Linked DNA regions of Homo sapiens: region 2 is linked to region 1. The links are contacts of gene promoters, found by promoter capture Hi-C in blood cells and fetal thymus (Javierre and others, 2016). All regions are on one chromosome and are shown on one strand. The core of a region is centred on a gene start or on the middle of the fragment in contact, and the rest is flanking DNA. Distances in the headings are between cores, read along the strand shown. Region 1 holds the start of ARFIP2 (ARF interacting protein 2). Region 2 overlaps PPFIBP2 (PPFIB scaffold protein 2).

Region 1 (2,916 bases), core at 249-2,748:
AGAGTCCATGAGGTTCCTACAAGCAGAAGTTCCCAAGATCTCCAGACATAATTCAAGCTTTCCTAGACATATCCTATGCTTCCCCAAACCATTCCTGTCCCCTCCTCCACCCAAGATTCCTGTTTCTGAACATTCATACCTGTGGGGATGAGTCCATCACCAGAGCCCCCATAGCCACCAGACACAATGCTGGTTTCATTGAGGTTGGGTCCTGACACCATCACCTGCTGGAGGTCCTATAGGCCAGAGAAGAGGGGTTGCTTCAGGAACATAGGGGCTGCAGAAGCATTTTGGAGGTGGGAACAAGTTTGGATTCAAGCATCATAAAGATAGTACACAAGGGAAGTCTGCACAGAATCAAAATGATACGTAAAAAGAATGAAGGGAGTCAGATAAGTCAGGGGAAGGCTACTGGAATGGAGGGTGAGAACCTAGGATTTATAAATTGGATTCCTAAATTGAAACAATTAGAAGAATCAAACAGAAGCACCTGCTCCAGCCCATCATCTTCAGGAAGCTGCCTGGCTTCGCCGTTCCCGTGGATAGGGATCTCCATTGTGGCTGCCTTCCCTAGGATCCCGTCCGTCATGGCTAGGAAAGGTATTGGAGTAAAACTCTCCACCCCAGCACCCTGCAAAGCCCAACACAGAAGTTCTGGACACTGGCCAGCACTCTAGAAGAAGGAGGCCTCCTCTGTCATTTCTTTAAAGGCTGTCCCAGGGTTTGAGTGTCCCAGCGTTTGGCCATCATTCCTTTCTTCAGATATATGTATTTCTCCCCTCCAAAACGCACATTTGAAACAGGCACACCAAAGCACGGTGTCTTCTCACAAGCCCCCAACCTCACCAGGACTCTGGTGATTATTTCTACACTCATTCAGCAGACATTTAGTGAGTGCCTACTATGTGTCAGGCACTATTTGTGACAATGAAAATACAACAGTGAAGAGGGAAAGTCTGCTCTCTTAGAACTTATCTCCATGCAGGCGTGTTTATGCTGAGGAGATGAACCCTTTCCAGGGCTCAGGTCTTCACCCCCCTATTCAGGTTTGTTCTCCATTGCTTGGCCTTTCACATTCCTTTAGCGTTTCTTCCCCCTTCCTTCAGGGGGTCTCCCCTCCTCCGTCTCATACACCTCGTCTTCCTCGGGCCCTCCCCACCAGGCCTTAGTTAGATCAGTGGGTGTATGTTCCCAGTCTCTGGTAAAAGCCTCTCTCTCCCAGGATATCGGTGACCCTTCCACAGTCAGTTATGTCTCCCAGGTGTGTGAGTCCCCGCCCCCACCCCCATACACCTGGACATCAGGTGTGTCCTCATCCTTCCCCGGGGCTCGGGGCATCTTGCCCTCTGGACAGGTTTGTGCGTTCAACTTCCCGTCGCCCAAGCATGTTCCTCTCACCTCGGGCCGGGCCGCTCTTCCCCTCAGGGCGCCAGGCCCGGGCCGCGCGGGGACCTCGGGCTCCAGTTCCCGTCGCGATCCTAGCAGCAGGTCAGGGACTCGGCGGAAATGACGTCCTCTCCGGGCAGAAGAAGCCGGCCACGTCGCAGATTATAAGGGCGGAGCTGACGTCGCAGCCAGGGCAGGGCGATACTCGAGCTAGCTCTCGAGATCAGCGAGAGGTTACTTCCGGGGCGGCACCGAGAAGCTGAAACGGAAGTGGCGTACGGCATGCGCCGGTGGCGTGATGGAGCGGCAGCAGCAGCAGCAACAGCAACTGCGAAACGTAAGTGAGAACTAAGTCGTTTCGAGGCCAGACGTTCAGCTCGCATTCCTGCACACATCGCGGGAACCCCACAGGGCCAGGGATTTGAGGGCTGGAAACTTCGGGCTATGGCGCGCGGGCCTGGGAAACTTTGGGCGGCGCGACCTTGACTAGAAGTGTGGGGCCCTTATCGCTGAGTTTGTGGTCCCCCTTTTCTCTCAGCTGCGTGACTTCCTGTTGGTCTACAATCGGATGACAGAACTCTGCTTCCAGCGCTGTGTGCCCAGCTTGCACCACCGAGCTCTGGACGCTGAGGAGGTGGGGAACTGTGTAGGGAGGTTACGCTGCAAGAAGAGTTTAGCGGTAGACTGCTTCCCTCCTCACCCCACTTCCCGTACCTCTGGCCCTGGCCTTCCCACGACCCTCACCCCTAGGCTGGGCATGGGGAAGAAAGGAGGCGGACCCGACAGGGCACCTTTATCCTCCACTTAAACCCTATCTTCCTTCTAGGAGGCCTGTCTGCACAGCTGTGCTGGGAAGCTGATCCATTCCAACCACCGCCTCATGGCCGCTTACGTGCAGCTCATGCCTGCCCTGGTACAGCGCCGCATCGCAGACTACGAGGCTGCCTCGGCTGTGCCAGGCGTTGCTGCTGAACAGCCTGGGGTCTCTCCATCAGGCAGCTAGCCATACCCAACCCCAGGAAGGAAGGCCTTGGATGGACCCTCAGATTGAAGGACCCGGTGGACCTTGGGGTTGGTGAATCCTAAACAGAGAGAATTCGAGGTTGCCTGAAAGCTGGGTGTCCTTGCTCCTTTTCCTGGAGCCAATATACCCAGTTTTTACTCAGTTTGATTTATATTCTGGGCAAGGAAGCTTTGCCTACTTTATTGGCACAATCCGTTGTTCTGTCGTTTAGTGCATATCTGCTGGCTTCAGCCCTGGCAGCTGAGAAATTGTTTTCTATATGTAGAAGGAAAACCTGAGCATTTGCAGGCATCTGGTTAAAGCAGGGTCTGTGTGTACAATTTTAAAACGGGTAATATGTCATGCTCTTAGTTCATCTTCACAACAAAACTATGAGTAAGCGGTATTAGCCTCACTTAACAGATGAGGAAGCAAGATTCCAGAAAGTACCAGAAGGTCATTTTATACAACAGGAGATTGGTTCCTGCCCAGATGACAGAAAATGGGAGCTCTGTCTAGTTGTCCTT
Region 2 (2,916 bases), core at 179-2,678, 1.0 Mb after region 1:
TCTCTGTCATGTTCATATGTACACATTTATGCACACTGAAAGCTGAGCATTCATTGTGCTTGATGCTTTTAATCACCCTGTTCTATGTTGCATAGTAATCATGATCCCTAACATACCTGTAGATGGGAGGCCTAGACACAGAAGGAATAGGACTGTCTCTCTGATAGGATAAAATACACCATCCTTGTATGGCATTCAAATCTCTACAGTGGTGGGCCCTACTTTAGCTCTCCAGCTGCCTCTCCACTGTTCCCCAAACTGAGAAGCTGAGTAATTTCTATTCTTTTGTGCCTATCTGCATTTGCATACACTATTTTATCTTCCTGGAAAGCCCTTTTGTCTCTATTCTGCAAGATTATTAATCCTTCAGGATATAGATCAAATTCTTAAAGCTCCCTTGCCCCTAAGTCGTTTTTACTCTTCTGTTACATACATATCACATCAAACAAAGATCTGCTATGCTATTTCATCACTTTATGTCTATGTCTCTGTCCATATTCCTCCAAACTCTGAGCTGCTTTAGGGCTGTATCAGCTCTTGTGCGTGGCCCCACACTTAGCAGATGTCCAGGAGGAGTCTGTGGTAGATATGGGCCTTAAGCTGGCTGGCTTTGCAATGTTTACCTCAGTAAAGAGGGAAAGGGGCTGGTTATTTCGTATGGTAGACGAGAGAAGGAAGAGGAGCAGAAGCTGAAAGACTGGGAGGAAGGACAGGCCCAGTGAAGAGTGGGCCCATATGGCTAGAGTCAGGGGGTTGGGTGGACACTGGGAGAGGTGAAGATGGAGTCCCAGGCTGGGAAGAGATCATGGAAGGCCTTGAAAGTTGGAGCTATATAATTTAAATTTTATTCTGATGACATTAAAGTTTCCATACTCAAGTATGGAAAAGACGTGGTAAAACTGTTCAGGATGATTGTGGCTGGGAAGGGCAGGTTGGAGGGACAGGGAGGAACTTCTTATGAGCACAGGCTGTTAGAATAACCCACTGAGGTAGCTCAGGACCTAAATCAAGGCAATGGCAGTAGGAATAGAGAGAAGGGAGCAGAGGCAAGTGACCATGCCAAGAAATCCGGCAGGATTTGGTGACTGATTGTATTTGAGGGAAAGAGAAAAGCGTCAAACTGGATACTGACGTGTGTTAGTTTGCTGGGAGAAGAATGAGGCAACTGTTAGTAGCATGAAAGCATGGAGGAACTTAGTGGAAGGGGGAAGGGAAATGAAAGTGGTTGATTCTTTTGGAATCAGAAGGGAGCCTCGGGTAGTTTCTTGCTTGCCCTTTATATGTTTACCCATAAGAGGATGGTGAAGCCCAGAGAAACCTACCCAAGATCACTTAGCTCTTGATTGTAGAACCCAGGTCTACTGGCATTATGGCCTGGGCTTCTATCTTCTGTAGCACATGAGTTTAGCCAGAGGAGAGCTGCCAGAAGGTCGAGATGGAGATTCCATTAGGCAATGAAAAATGGGAATGAGACCAGGTTTGGGGTGAATTCAGCCTGCAGAACAGCTAAGGCTGGAGTCTTATAGGTCAAGCACCCAGATGGGAAATGTCTGCTAGTTGCCAATGCCATGGGGGCCCGAAGGCTCATGAGGCCTCCTTTTTGCCCTGTGGCCTAGCTGTATGTGGGGCTGATGGGAGATATGAAGTACTTTTAGGGTATCAGCGCTCTTATACTTATTATGCTCAATGTGGGCACGTGTATTAATTTTCTTCTGGGAATGTAACCACCAATCAATTTATCAATTCCATGGGAAGTTGTATTCCAAGGCCCAAACACCTCCTCTACCCAGACTTCAGGGCACATCCAGCCAGTTCATGAGAAGTTGCCTCTTATAGTGTTGGAGTGGGGATGGGGGTACAGGGAACAGCTAGCTAGGGAAGGCAACCAGCCATGAGGACCTCATCCAAGCAGGGTCCGGTGTAGAGTCAGGATCGGGGACTCAGATGGCTGGATGAGGGCTACAGCTGTCCGATGAGGAGTGAGGATCTTATCTGGAATCTGCACTGCTGTCGGGAGACTCAGTGGCCCTGAGGCTGGAGTTCTTCAATCCTCCTCACCCCTCCCTTCCACACACCTTTGCCCAGCCAGGCTCCTCAGCCTCCAGCCTCCCAGGATGGAGTCTTGTCTTTGTCATGGACGCTGACACAGTGGTCACTTCTGTTTCTTGAGGAAGAGCCAGGTTTATGAATGTGAAACATTTGAATTATTGTCTGAGTTGTGGTAGTTGCCAAATAAAAACATATACACAAAGAATACTGGGAGCCAACGTTGAAGGAAAACTTGTCAAACTTCCCTTTCTCTTTTGAGCTTTGTAGTGGGGTCTTGCCAGTTTATACCTCATCTTGTTCTGAAGGTTTTTTGTTTCTGTTTTTCATATTAAGGCCAAAATATGTGCACGAGCCTGCTCACCCATGGTAAAGTGTCAGGGACAGCCACAAATTGCACAGATTACAGACGTAGATTTGCACTTCCCATTTCTTAGGAAGTAGGTGGGTGGAGGAACCACTAATGCATCTCCAGGAAGGGATTTGTTAGCTCAAGGGAGGCTATGGGGACTAGATCCTACATTGCCTCTTCCCAGGCTTATGGTCGCTGTGGTGTTCCCAGGTGGCTCTGCTTCAGGTATGTCTCTTTCCTCCTGGGAATAGGGAAGGAGGTGATCCAGATCTCAGGATTTCTCTGCCTGCTTAGGGATGCCAGTGAGGTGTGTTTAGTGGGGATACTCTTGTCCCTGCCCTCCAGGGTAAAGTTACACTTCCACAGTAACTTGTGTGCATGGTTGAAATGCAGCCATCACATGCAGCTGGGCCTCTCACTCTGACCTGGAGGGCCACTCCTGTGACTGCACTGATTATCCCAAGAGGCCTTCTTAGCAAACTTCTCCAAGTTGCTTCTGGCGAAAGGTTCAGAGAACT

Evidence for each region. The method cuts DNA at HindIII sites, captures the fragments that hold promoters and counts their contacts. A CHiCAGO score of 5 or more calls a contact.
Region 2: a contact is called between a fragment that was not itself captured here and the fragment with the promoter of ARFIP2 in region 1, in 5 of 17 cell types (M0 macrophages, M2 macrophages, total B cells and 2 more). The highest score is 7.3, in M0 macrophages.

Annotation. Positions count from the first base shown.
Region 1 is chr11:6,479,833-6,482,748 of GRCh38, forward strand. It overlaps ARFIP2 (ARF interacting protein 2), which reads right to left and starts at 1,499. Exons shown (of 8, transcript NM_001376558.2): 1 at 1,399-1,499; 2 at 491-631; 3 at 140-236. The coding sequence starts at 589. It overlaps TIMM10B (translocase of inner mitochondrial membrane 10B), which reads left to right and starts at 1,669. Exons shown (of 3, transcript NM_012192.4): 1 at 1,669-1,723; 2 at 1,925-2,020; 3 at 2,213-2,916. The coding sequence starts at 1,685. The coding sequence ends at 2,389. RefSeq lists enhancers at 1,092-2,291, 1,128-1,247, 1,728-1,777. The HindIII fragment of the contact is 2,521 bases long and covers 56-2,576 here.
Region 2 is chr11:7,521,156-7,524,071 of GRCh38, forward strand. The region is part of intron 1 of PPFIBP2 (PPFIB scaffold protein 2); the gene reads left to right. All of the region lies in intron 1 of LOC124902806 (leucine-rich repeat extensin-like protein 5), which reads right to left. Among named protein-coding and RNA genes, the nearest start is that of PPFIBP2, 8.6 kb to the left of the region's middle. RefSeq lists enhancers at 52-101, 172-351 and a silencer at 429-629. The HindIII fragment of the contact is 3,283 bases long and covers 1-2,916 here.